Regions from separate parts of the Homo sapiens genome. Here region 2 is linked to region 1. The links are contacts of gene promoters, found by promoter capture Hi-C in blood cells and fetal thymus (Javierre and others, 2016). All regions are on one chromosome and are shown on one strand. Each heading gives the region's core, a stretch centred on a gene start or on the middle of the fragment in contact. The rest is flanking DNA. Distances are from core to core; before and after follow the strand shown. Region 1 holds the start of CRYBG2 (crystallin beta-gamma domain containing 2). Region 2 overlaps CEP85 (centrosomal protein 85).

Region 1 (6,143 bases), core at 3,147-5,646:
GGATTAATATACTCATGGATTAATAGATTAATGGTTTAATGGATTAATGAGTGATCATGGGAGTAGGACTAGAGGCTTTTTTTTTTTTTTTTTTTTTTTGAGACAGGGTTTTGCTCTGTTGCCCAGGCTGGAGTGCAGTGGCACAATCTCAGCTTACTGCAACCTCTGCCTCCTGGGCCCAAACAGTCCTCCCACCTCAGCCCACCGAGTAGCTGGGACTACAAGCCTGCACCGCTATGCCTGGCTAATTTTTGTATTTTTTGTAGAGTTGGGGTTTCACTATGTTGCCCAGTCTGGTCTCAAACTCCTGAGCCTAAGAGATCTGCCCACCTCCGCCTCCCACAGTGCTGGGATTACAGGTGTGAGCCATTGTGCCTGACCGGACCAGTGGTTTTATAGGAAGAGGAAGGGACACCTGAACTAGCACCTCAGCCCCACTGCCATGTGATGCTCTGAGCCCCCTCGGGACTCTGCAGAGAATCACCAACAAGGTTCTTACCAGATGCACCCCCTTGACCTTGGGCTTCCAGGTTCAGGTATTCCATTATAAGCAACAGAAAATAGACTAAGCTCCCTAGGAACTCTCAGGTGAATTTCTCTGTTTTACTAGTTGCAACAACAACAAAAACAGCCATTTGGGGAGGGCTGACTCTGCCAAACACCTTGCTAAGTGCTTTAGATTCATTGTCCCATTGAAGCCTCAGAAGAATCCCAGGAGCTTGAGACCTCATAAAGAATAAATTATTAATAAATTAGATCATACCTTCCCATTTTGCAGATGAGATTTTTTAAATGCTCAGAGAGGTTAAGAAACTTGTCCAAAGTCACAGAGTAACCGAAACAAGACTTGAACCCCAACCCTAAGTGCTCACTCACCATACCAAACTCCCTAATATATGTATCCTATAACTGAGTCTCTGGTTTGGGGGTTTACATTTACAGGGAGCCATGTCAGTCCTGGAGGGCGTCTCCACCCCCACTCCCTGACTTCCAAGCTACACTGACCAGGGCAATCCTATTCTTAGGCCCCACGAACCCCAGAGAGGCCAGCCTGTTCAGCCCGAGTCTTTGGGCCTTCTCCATGAGGTACCCTCCCCTCCCCAAGAGACCTGACTCTGGGCAGGAAATGGACCCACTGCCCCCACTCCCCTCCCCCATTTCCCATTGTCCTCCTTCCTGAGAAGCTGGTGGAATTCAGAACTTTGACCCTTCCCTGTGGCCACAGCAGTGACTCAGGCTTTATGAGGGGCAGAGATGAAAGAGACTGAAGCCCCGGGAAGCCTGACCTGACTCCAGGACTGCTGGTGGCTATGACAGTGTCAGGGACAGGGTCCAAGGGGGACTGGAAGGTGGAGGGGTTAGGTAGAGCCCTGGTCATTTTCCCAGGCCAGGGCTTCCTGAGAGCAGTACACAGCCAGACACCAAAGGCTCTGGATTTTAGCCTCTCACTGAGGCCCCAGCCCACTCCCCTGTCCCCATTAGGGAGCTCCCTTTTTCCTCATGCAACCCCTGCCCTCCTCGCTGGGACTCTGCCCAAATGAAGTTTGACGCCCTCGCTGAGCACCTCCTAAGCCCCTGTCCACCTGCCTTCCACTCTCCGAGCTTCCTTGTCTCTGATGGTGCTTATAGTAAGTGGCAAAGCTTGAGCTCTAACTCATTCATTCATTCATTCAATTACTCACTCATTCAGTGCTAATTGTATCAAGGGATGTGCTAGGCCTTGGCTAGACTCAACCAGAACCAGAGCCAACTTTCTCATGAAAGGTGGCATATTAAGAAGCCAGGGGCCAAGGAATTAGACATAAAAACAGGGACATTTGGAAAGCGCCATAGGCATCAGGAAAGCGACAGGAGAGCAATGTTAAAGGAGGCGGCCGATCATGAGATCAGATATTGTCGATGACCTCCTACCAATCAGAATTTAACGTCTTTCTCAACCAGCCCAACCCCTGGACAACACCCCTGATAGCCAGTCATTCCACAAGCATGTGGTCATTGGCTTCTGCCTGCATACCTCCAGGGACAGGGAGGTCACCACTCGACAGTTCACCTGCCCCGTCCCTGAACAGTCATGAGTGCTAGAATGTCCTTCAGACTCTGCTGGAATGTGCCTGCCTATAGATGCCCCCTTTTGTCCTTGCTCTGAAGACATACCCCAATACAATGACCCAGGATGCCTCTCCTGGGCCAGCAGAAGGGGCCATTCCCAGAGCCCTTTCTTCTGCAGGGCCCCAGACCAGAAGTGGATTTGTTGGCAGCGTGACCTGTGACCTCCAAACAAGGCGTGTGGAGCTGGGAAGGGAGAGGCTGAGGAGGGGGCGGGGGGAGTGTGGGAAAGAGCCTTGTCTAACCCAACAAGTCCTGGATTCTCCCCACTTACCTGTGAGTCACCCCCAAACTAGGCCAAACCAGTCCACAGGCCCACATGCAGGCAAACACATGCTGTGTCACACAGACGCAGGCACAGACACACAGACAGATACCGACACAGACCCACAATCACACAGGCACAAAGATACACCTAGAAGCCTATAAAAACATACACAACCAGGGACACACACACAAATATACACTCACCCAAGAAATACAAACACGCACAGGCACTCAGAGCCACAACAGACACACAAATCACATACAGACAGAAACACAGGCACAGTGACACACACGTGCACACATTCACAATACACACACAGTCAATTCACAGCCCCAAGCTCTCTTCCCCTTGAAATTCACCTACCCCTGAACGTGGACACACACGCTTGGATGCACACGTATCTTACACATTCCCACTGGCAGTCCCAGCTATGTCTCACTTCTTCTCGACTCCCATATTTGCCAATCTTGGCCCAGAGAACCTTCTCCCAGGAAGGGGACATAGAAGGATGATGTTTCTGGAGGTCACCTGCCCCCCACTCTAAGTGAGCCCTAGCCTCCCACCTGAGTCTGTCATTATCCACCTGGGCCCAAAATACCCAGGTAGTGGCAGATAGAAACCACCTCCCCCCAGCTAACCCTACTTCTCTTTCCCGTCCCCCTCTCCAAGGTAGCCTCCTCCACCCCCCTTCCCTCTCTCTGCAGCCCTTGTCCCCCAGCCCCTGACTTCTGGGGCATCCAAGCAGGTCTCAGAGCCAGCCTGGGTCCTACATCTCCCTCTTCCTTGGCACGGAAGCAGTCACATTGACCCCTGCTTGGAGGACCCCAGCATTCCTGATTCTGCCTCTGCTACTACAATGCTGCCCAATCCACCGCCATAGGAGCCTAGAAAACCCTGGAGCCCACACAGCAACCTCACTCAACCCTCCACTCTCTGCACAGGGCCAAAGAGGTTTCTTCCAGGCAGGATGGAGCAGTGGTTAGAGCACAGGCACTGGAGTTATAGAAACCTAAGTTCAGATTCTAGCCCCTTCACTTTCTAGTTGACTTTGAGCAAGTGACTTTCAGAGCCTCCTAGAATTAGGTGACAGGGGTTGGGATCAGTCCCTACTCATGGGATGGTTGGGAAGATTAAATAAAATTATGCTTAGAAAACAAATTGCAAATGACAGCCACCCCATCATCCTTAAGCACCCTTCAAAACCCCACCCCAGGCTCATTTCCTCTTCAGGGTCATCCCTGGGAGGTTCCATGTTCATCCCTCCTTGATGAGCTTTGGGGGACATATCCTTCCACCTCTGCGCCCCCCAGGCAGATTTAGGAGAGTCATTTCAACACAAATAAAACTAGGCTTGGGAAACTCGACACCCACTCCTTTGGCTTCCAGCTCAGAGCCAGGTGGGGTAATTATTGCTGTCACTGAGACGTAATTAATAAGCATCCCTGCTATTTTGGCACCCCCAGTCTCTGGAGTTCAAAGTATATTCCTGTAGCCACCTCCTCCTTCCTCATTTTCAGCTACCAAATCCTCTCAACAACTCAAGGCCCAGAGAGGTTAAGCAACTCGCCTCAGGACACCCAGCACCTAGGCTGGGTGCCAATTCCCAGGCTGAGTCTGTGGCCTCCTGAACAGAACTGGGGAGTGGTGTATGCTGTGAAGAAGGCAACCCCCCTTCCTGCCCATCCTCTCCCTGACAGACTTTCCCCTTTCTCAGATGGACAGTGGGGGTGAGAAGCAGTGGGTTCCAGGAGGTAGCCTGTGGGCAAAGGGAGGGAGAGGAAGGCAGGGTTGGAGCAGGGAGGGAAGGCAGAGTCGGCTCAGGGTCCTGAATGAATGGGCCTAGAGCTGGAGAGGCCCAGGGAATAGGCAAAGTCTCAAGACAGGGCAGCCAGGCCAGTCTCCCCTCCCATCTCCACACACAGACCGACCTCTACTCACAGTCTGCGTGGGGACCCAGGTGTCCAGCCAGCCTGGAGCTCCTGCTGCTGGGCCGTGCTCCCCTGATGCGATTGGGCTCTCAGCTGGGGTTCCTGAGGCGGGGCCGTCCGGCACCCTGTGATGGGGCGTGGCCCCTGGGGAGGCTCCCACCAGCCCTCAGATTCCTCAGGGCCGCAGAGGTGTGGAGCTGGTTGGGCCGGTTCTTCACCCTCCTCCCCTGGTGCTTGCCTGTGCCCCAGCAGGGTGACAGTGATGTAGTAGCGGGTCCTCCTGGAAGAGGGACGCGTGTGTAGGGTCTGGGCAGGCTCTGGCAAGGCAGTCCCTGGGGTGGCGGGCTTGCCCTTTGTCCCCTCTGCCCTGGGGAAGGATGCAGGGTGGAGCAGCAGGGGTGCGTCTTCCAGGTTGCTGGGTGGCTCAGGCCTCAGAGGGACCTCTGAAGCTGTGGGTGGAGACTGCTGACAGGTGCAGCCTGAGGATCCCTGCTCCCCATGTCCAGGAGCAGGCCCTGGGTATTGGGGGAGCCTGGTACGAGCAGACTCTCCTGAGGCCACTTCCAGGGCCAGGCTCTCAGGCCCCAGGGAGGCATGGCTGGCCAGGTCGAAGGCGCTGCCCACCGCTGGCCTCTGTAGGCGCCCCAGGGACTGAGCAGGACCCCCCGAGATTCCTTGTTGCTTCCAAATCCAGAAATCATCATGGTCCCCTACATGGATGTCCCATTCTGAGCAGCTCTGGCCTTGGGCCTGGGTGAAAACAGAGATAGACACTGAGAGAGGCAGGGGCATAGTGACAGCTCCCCCTGCCCTCCAGGCACCCCTGGTACCTGGTATCTTCCCTGTCACAAGGAAGCTGAACAGGGCTCTGACACCAAGGTAAGCTGCCCTAGGGAGAGGCTGCTAAGGCCACCAGAGCTGGACAAAGGGACAGAGCTCTGGGAAGGCCCTTCAGCATTTAACTCACCCCTTCCCATTCTACGTAAGAGGAAAGTGGGGCCCAAAGAAGACGGCGACATGACTGAGATCACACAGCAAGCCAGCGAGGGCTCCCAACGCTCAGGTGCCGCACTCCCTCCCAGGTGACAAGGCACCCAGGGCCTGGCCGGCCATGCCCCCCAAAGGCTGGAGATCTCAGCTTCCTTGCAGTCCTGAGGTGCTTCCCCGCCCTGGGGCTGAGGGCTGGGTGGGAAGGCCTGCCTCAAGTGCCCATGGCCTCTGCCCATTCCAAGCTAACAGAGAGACTGCGGCCACCTCTCTTGTACCCTCCCAGCTTGAGACAGAACACCTGGGAGGATGTACCTGGGATATAAGGGAGCCAGAGAAGAGGGTTCCCCTGAAATGGGACAACACCTGACCTCTTCTGCTGTCTTCCCCTGGGGTCCAGCCTGGCTGTGGGGATAAGAGGAGAGGGCTCAGCACCCCAGACCCAGATGGACACTGCCCCCAAAACGACCCGTTTTAAAAGATGGGCTGTTTCCTTGGCAACAGAGGAGGTCAAAATTCCGCCTAGCAGGGATCCTTGCTGCCAAATGCCTTAATTTACTCATCTATGAAACAGATGCAGCCTCTCATTCCCCAGGGGCTGACCACCTCAAGAGACAAGAGTACAGTGATGAACCTGGAGGCTTGGATCGAGGCAACCTGGGCTTGAATCTCCGCCCTGCTGCTTCCTATAATAGCTGCAGTACCGTTTGTATTTCAGTTTCCTCATGTGGAAAATGGGTGTGATAATAACAGTACCTGCCTCCTGAGAGTGTGGTACAGATGGTACAAGATAGTCCATGCAGAGGGCCCAACACATGACAAGTAGGCAATTAAACACTGGCAATTACTCATGG
Region 2 (6,143 bases), core at 1,774-4,273, 110 kb before region 1:
GAATGATTTATTTTGTATTGTTTTACTCCTTACGGGGTTTCTTTCTTTCTGTTTTTCTTTTTTGAGATATTTGTTGTCAATGAGGGTCAGACTCTGAAATATTTGAAGGGATTTATTCTGAGCCAAATATGGGTGACCAGTGGCCCCTGACACAGCCCTCAGGTGATCCTGATAACGTGTGCCCTGGTTTTAAACATTTTAGGTAGACATGAGACATCAGTCAAATACATGTAAGATTTACATTGATCTGGAAGGGTAAGACAACTCTTAGTGGGTGGGGGCTTCCAGGTCATAGGTAGATTTCAAAATTTTCTGATTGGCAGTTGGTTGAAAGTTGTTATCAATAGAAAGGAATGTCTGGGTTAAGGTATCCTGGGGATCAACATTTTATTGTACAGATGAAGCCTCCAAATAGTAGGCTTTAGAGAGAATAGATTATAAATGTTTCTTACAGACATCTGTGTTAATGTTAATGCTTTTCCTAAATTCCAGAAGGGAGGAGGGTATAATGAGGGGTGTAGGACTCCACCACCACTACCACCATCATGGCCTTAACAGGTTTTTCAGCTTAACTTTGGAATGCCATTGGCCAAGGGGAGGGATCCATTCAGGTGGTTGGGGATGTCTTAGAATTTTTTTTTTGGCTTATATCACATAACATAAAATTTAATTTTATGTGTGTGCAATTCAGAGGTTTTTAATATATTGGCAAGGTTGTGCAGTCAGTCACCACTATCTAATCTCAGAACATTTTGATCACCCTGAAAAGAAACCCGGTATCCATTAGCAGTCCCTTCCTATTCTCCTACCCTCCCTCCTCTCAGTCCTTTGCAATCACTAATCTGTGTCTCTATGGATTTGCCTATTCTGACATTTCATATAAATAGGATCAAGCCTTTTGTTTGGCTTCTTTGACTTTGCATGTCTTCAGTGTTCATCCATGTTGTCACATGTATCAGTACTTCCTTTTATTGCTGAATAATACTCTGTTTTTTGGATATACCACATTTTATGTATCCATTCATTAGCTCATGGACGTTTGTGTTGTTTCCACTTTTTGGCTATTGTAAATAATGCTGCTACGAACATTCTTATTGAAGCTTTTGTGTAAACCTGTGTTTTCATTTCTCTTGGGTGTATACTTCAGTGTGGAATTGCTGAGTCATAGGGTAACTCGGAGTTCTCCTTCTGTCACCGTATTTTCAACTTGTCTGAATTTAGAAACACCTTAGAATCCAGTGCGCCTACCATTTTGTTATCCTTTAAAGAAAGGAGTGAAGAAAAGGATTTTGATATTGACAAGAAAGGAAATCACTAGTAAGGAGGTAATCTAATCATTCTATGTCATCATTTAACTCACTGAATCATACTTGCCATAAACTAAAGCTTTTATTACTGAACAAAGCTTCCCTCACCCAGTATGTGAAGAACTGGAATTGTGGAGGATGATACCCTTTCTATTGTAGATGCAGTGAATTAATAAGGGTTTGGGTTGTTATGTACTTTAGTGACCTCTATAGTATTCTCTTAGTAACAAGAGAATACTATAGAGGTCACTAAAGTACATTAGAGAAATAGTACCATATAGTCTTTTTTCTCCAGAGTGATAGAATTATGTTCTGTGAATTGTCCCAAACTCTTTTTTTTTTTTTTTTGAGACGGAGTCTTGCTCTGTCGCCCAGGCTGGAGTGCAATGGCGCGATCTTGGCTCACTGCAGCCTCCGCCTCCATGGTCCAAGCGATTCTCCTGCCTCAGCCTCCCAAGTAGCTGGGATTACAGGCGCCTGCCACCATGCCTGGCTAATTTTTGTATTTTTAGTAGAGACGGGGTTTCACCATGTTGGCTGGTCTCGAACTCCTGACCTCAGGTGATCCGCCTGCCTCGGCCTCCCAAAGTGCTGGGATTACAGGCGTGAGCCACTGAGCCCGGCCGAATTGTCCCAAACTCTTTTGGGGCTTTTATAAATTTAGAGTTTCTGAGTTGATACTCCTTGATCTTCCATGGGCTGTACAGTGCTACTTTTGTTGATGTAAATTGCCAAGTAATAACAGCACTTAGTATGTGTCAGGAACTGTTGTAAGTTAATTATAAGTGAATTAACATGAATTAGGTTGTGTTGTTATCCTCATTTTTATATGAAGAAAATGAGGAACAGAGATACTAAGAAATTTGCCCAAGGTTACACAGCTAATAAATTGATAACTTAATGTTTAGTGGGTTCAAGTGTATTTGTTTAGACTTCAAATCCACTTCTGCTGAATTCTCAGCACCTACCCCTAGTGTACTGTAAATATAAATATTTTAAGGAGTGAGAACATGGGACGAGAACTTCACGTTCCTAGCTCAGGATTGGAGTTCTACTTATGAGCAAGAATTCTTTCCCATCTTTTTACATCGTATGACTGACTTTAATTACTGGAAGAATTGAGGAATTTGTTTTGTGTTAATCATAATTGATGCTGTAATACTTCACTGTTGGTTTAGTTCTTTAGTTCTTTATCCACCTCGTCCTGTCATCAGGTCCCCATGGCTAAGAAGATTCATGGTAAAGTTTGTTAATTAAAAGTAATATTTTTAAATTTTATAAAAATCAGAAGGGTTCTAGGACCGTATGGAATCTGTATTGGTAATCTCTGGTTCTAGGTTTTCTATACTGGATTTGGGAAGAGAAGTAGAGTGGAGTATTGGGATTTACTTTGTCTTAAAAATATCCTTAGAAGTAAAACATGTAAAAACATATTTACTCCTAAATATCCTTAGGAATATAACATTTAGAATACTGGAATATTCTTTTTTATTTTTTTTGAGATGGAGTCTTGCTCAGTTGCCCAGGCTGGAGTGCAGTGGTGTGATCTTGGCTCACTGAAACCTCTGCCTCCCGGGTTCAAGCAATCCTTGTGCCTCAGCCTCCCAAGTAGCTGGGACTACAGATGTGTGCCACCATGCCCGGCCAATTTTTGTGTTTTTAGTAGAAATGGGGTTTCCCCATGTTGGTCAGGCTGGTCTCGAACTCCTGACCTCAGTTGATCTGCCCGCCTTGGCCTCCCAAAGTGCTGGGATTACAGGTGTGAGCCACTGTGCCTGGCCAAATACTTGAATATTCTATATGGTTTTGACAGTTTCAGTTGAATGGGAACTGAGTTGCGGGGAATTAAAGATACTTCAGAGAACTGACTGGTTATTCCTTCATTCTACAGTTGGCTTAAATAACTGTGATTGATGGCCATGCAGGAGAAATATCCAACTGAGGGGATCTCTCACGTCACTTCACCGAGTGAGTAGTCAGAAGTTTTCTGGGTTAAATTCTGACCTTTGTTCTGTTTTTTCATATTCCTTAAGGTAAATATTGAACAAACAAGCATTCACTGAAATGCTGGTGCTAAAAGAATAAAAATAACATGGGGCTTCATTGAATATAAAAACAGGTCTCTGAGGGAACAAGTATTTATCTCTTGTGCTATGTGGCTTTCAACAGGACCACGTGGTTGGGAGAGGACGACATATAAAGGATTGGAACAGAATGACTTTGGAACATAGTTCCATTTGAAATCAGAAAAACACAGCATAAATTACTGTGTTCTATGTTGTCTTTGTCCTCTGGGTGGGTCAGTCATCTGCTAGCCCACAAAAATAGGAATTCTGCTTGGATGCCAACAGATTCCGTTGCATTGTTACTAGAAACTCAGGAATTTATCTTCAGAATGGATTAACAAGATTTTGAAACTTCAGTAGATATATTAAATATATACAGTCCTTAAGTGTCCATGGCGGACTGGTTCCAAGACCTCCTGCAGATAGCAAAATCCACAGATACTCAAGTCCCTGATATAAAATGGTGTGGTATTTGCATATAACCTGTGTATATCCTAATGTTTACCTTAAATCGTCTCTAGATTACTTGTAATACCCAATGCAATGTAAATGCTATGTAAATAGTTATACTGTATTGTTTGGGGAATAAGAAGAAAAACAAGTCTTATGCACATTCAGTAAGATACCATTAAAAAAAAAAATTGGTTGAATTCACAAACGTAGAAACCACGGATATGGCCAGGCGCTGTGGCTCATGCCTGTAATCCCAGCACTTTGGGAGCCCAAGGCGGGTGGATCACCTGAGGTCAGGAGTTTGAGACCAGCCTGGCCAACATGGTAAAACTCCATGTCTACTAAAAATACAAAAATTAGCCGGGTGCAGTGGCATGTGCCTATAATAATCCCAGCTACTTGGGAGGCTGAGGCAGGAGAATCACTTGAACACGGGAAGCAGAGGTTGAGGTGAGCTGAGATGACGCCACTGCACTCCAGCCTGGGCAACAGAGTGAGACTGTGTCTCAAAAAAAAAAAGGGGAAAAAAAAGAAACCATGGATATGGAGAGCTGACTGTATATTAAACACATAAATATATGTATGCACTGTGCAGGCATATTAAGTAGATAATATATATTTCAAATAAGTAATATTTTAGAAAAATGACTTGTTGAATTCTGGGGTATTGGTAAAGAAGAGGGCACGTTTAATTCAACTCAGGGTATGTTTTATTTAACTTTAAAATCTCACAGTGCCTTACTCAGCGTAGATATTTGGTAAATGTTTGGTGTATTCTCTTAGGCATGCTGCCTTGCATAGAGTAGGCACCATTATAAGCTTTGGTTGAATCAATTCAAGATTCATTCAGCAGAATTTTTTTTTTTTTTTTGAAATGGAGTCTCGCTCTGTCACCCAGGCTAGAGTGCAGTGGCGTGATCTCGGCTCACTACAAGCTCCGCTTCCCGGGTTCATGCCATTCTCCTGCCTCAGCCTCCCAAGTAGCTGGGACTACAGGTGCCCGCCACCATGCCCAGCTAATTTTTTTGCATTTTTTAATAGAGACGGGGTTTCACCATGTTAGCCAGGATGGTCTCAATCTCCTGACCTTGTGATCTGCCCGCCTGGGCCTCGCAAAGTGCTGGGATTACAGGCGTGAGCCACTGCACCCGGCCTCAGGAAATATTTTTTAAACATCTGCTATGTGCTGCACATTCTCTTAGGTTTGTACAGTTTCTATGACAATTATGTATATAATGCAAGTTTTTGGAACAATGCCTTTCCTATGGCTTTTTTCTCTCTTCAATAGTATCTCATTCAGATTAATAATGGTCTTAATAATTGATAAGGATGCTACTGATAGGACATGCACTATAACACAAAAAATTTCAGCTTTTCTTTTTTTTTTTTGGAGACGGAGTCTTGTTCTGTGGCCCAGGCTGGAGTGCAGTGGCACAATCTCAGCTCACTGCAACTTCTGTCTCCTGGGTTTAAGTGATTCTTGTGCCTCAGCCTCCCAAGTAGCTGGGATTACAGGCATGCACCACCACACCTGGCTAATTTTTTTGTATTTTTAGTAGAGACGGGTTTCGCCATATGCCCAGGCTGGTCTCCAACTCCTGAGCTCAGGTAATCTGCCCACCCCCGCCTCCCAAAGTGCTAGGATTACAGGCATGAGCCACTGCACCCGGCCAACTTCAGCATTTAAACTTCAATTTTGAAATAAGTGTAAACCTCTATAAATATACCAAAATATATTTTTAACAAATAACTCTTTGGAATTAGGGTATGGAGTAGGTGGATGGAAAAATGGTAGCGATGAAGAGTGGAAGATTAGTAGTAGTAACAGGGAAGCGGTTTCCAGTAGGAAGTCAGGAAGATGGTAATAGAGGCCCTCAATCTTAACTGTTTCAAAAGGCCTGGCAAATTTTACACTGACTAGAGAGAAAAAGCTGTGTAGACTCACCAGAAGGTGGGATTTCTTTGCTTTGGGCTAGAATTACACCAACTTAGTATAGTAGCATTGGCTAATCTCATGCCGCTCAGAAACTCGGATTGTTGCCTGTGTCTTCTATAACAATTACAGATTACTGAGTGTATAAAGATTCTTTCAAATCAGGCAGTCACTGTGATCCAAAGAATAGAAGAAGTATTTGGGGAAAGTCAGGTTGCCTTCAGTAGAAAGCCAAAGTAAGGGTAGCAAAAAATGAGCAAAAGTAGAAGAAAATAGATTAAAAAGATGAGAGAAGCACTAAACTTGGAAGAAAGGAATAAAGTAATTTGTGTCCAAATTACTTTGGGCGTAATCATTTAGTGGGAGCAATCATTTGCCTCCCAC

Evidence for each region. Contacts are between HindIII fragments. The CHiCAGO score rates a contact against its expected background, and 5 or more counts as called.
Region 2: a contact is called between a fragment that was not itself captured here and the fragment with the promoter of CRYBG2 in region 1, in 1 of 17 cell types (M2 macrophages). The highest score is 6.3, in M2 macrophages.

The regions. Positions count from the first base shown.
Region 1 is chr1:26,349,734-26,355,876 of GRCh38, forward strand. CRYBG2 (crystallin beta-gamma domain containing 2) reads right to left here and starts at 4,397. Exons shown (of 20, transcript NM_001039775.4): 1 at 4,303-4,397. RefSeq lists an enhancer at 1-482 and a silencer at 1,698-1,896. The HindIII fragment of the contact is 7,544 bases long and covers 1,640-6,143 here.
Region 2 is chr1:26,236,564-26,242,706 of GRCh38, forward strand. CEP85 (centrosomal protein 85) reads left to right here. Exons shown (of 14, transcript NM_001319944.2): 2 at 3,199-3,275. The coding sequence starts at 3,221. Among named protein-coding and RNA genes, the nearest start is that of CEP85, 5.4 kb to the left of the region's middle. The HindIII fragment of the contact is 3,240 bases long and covers 1,404-4,643 here.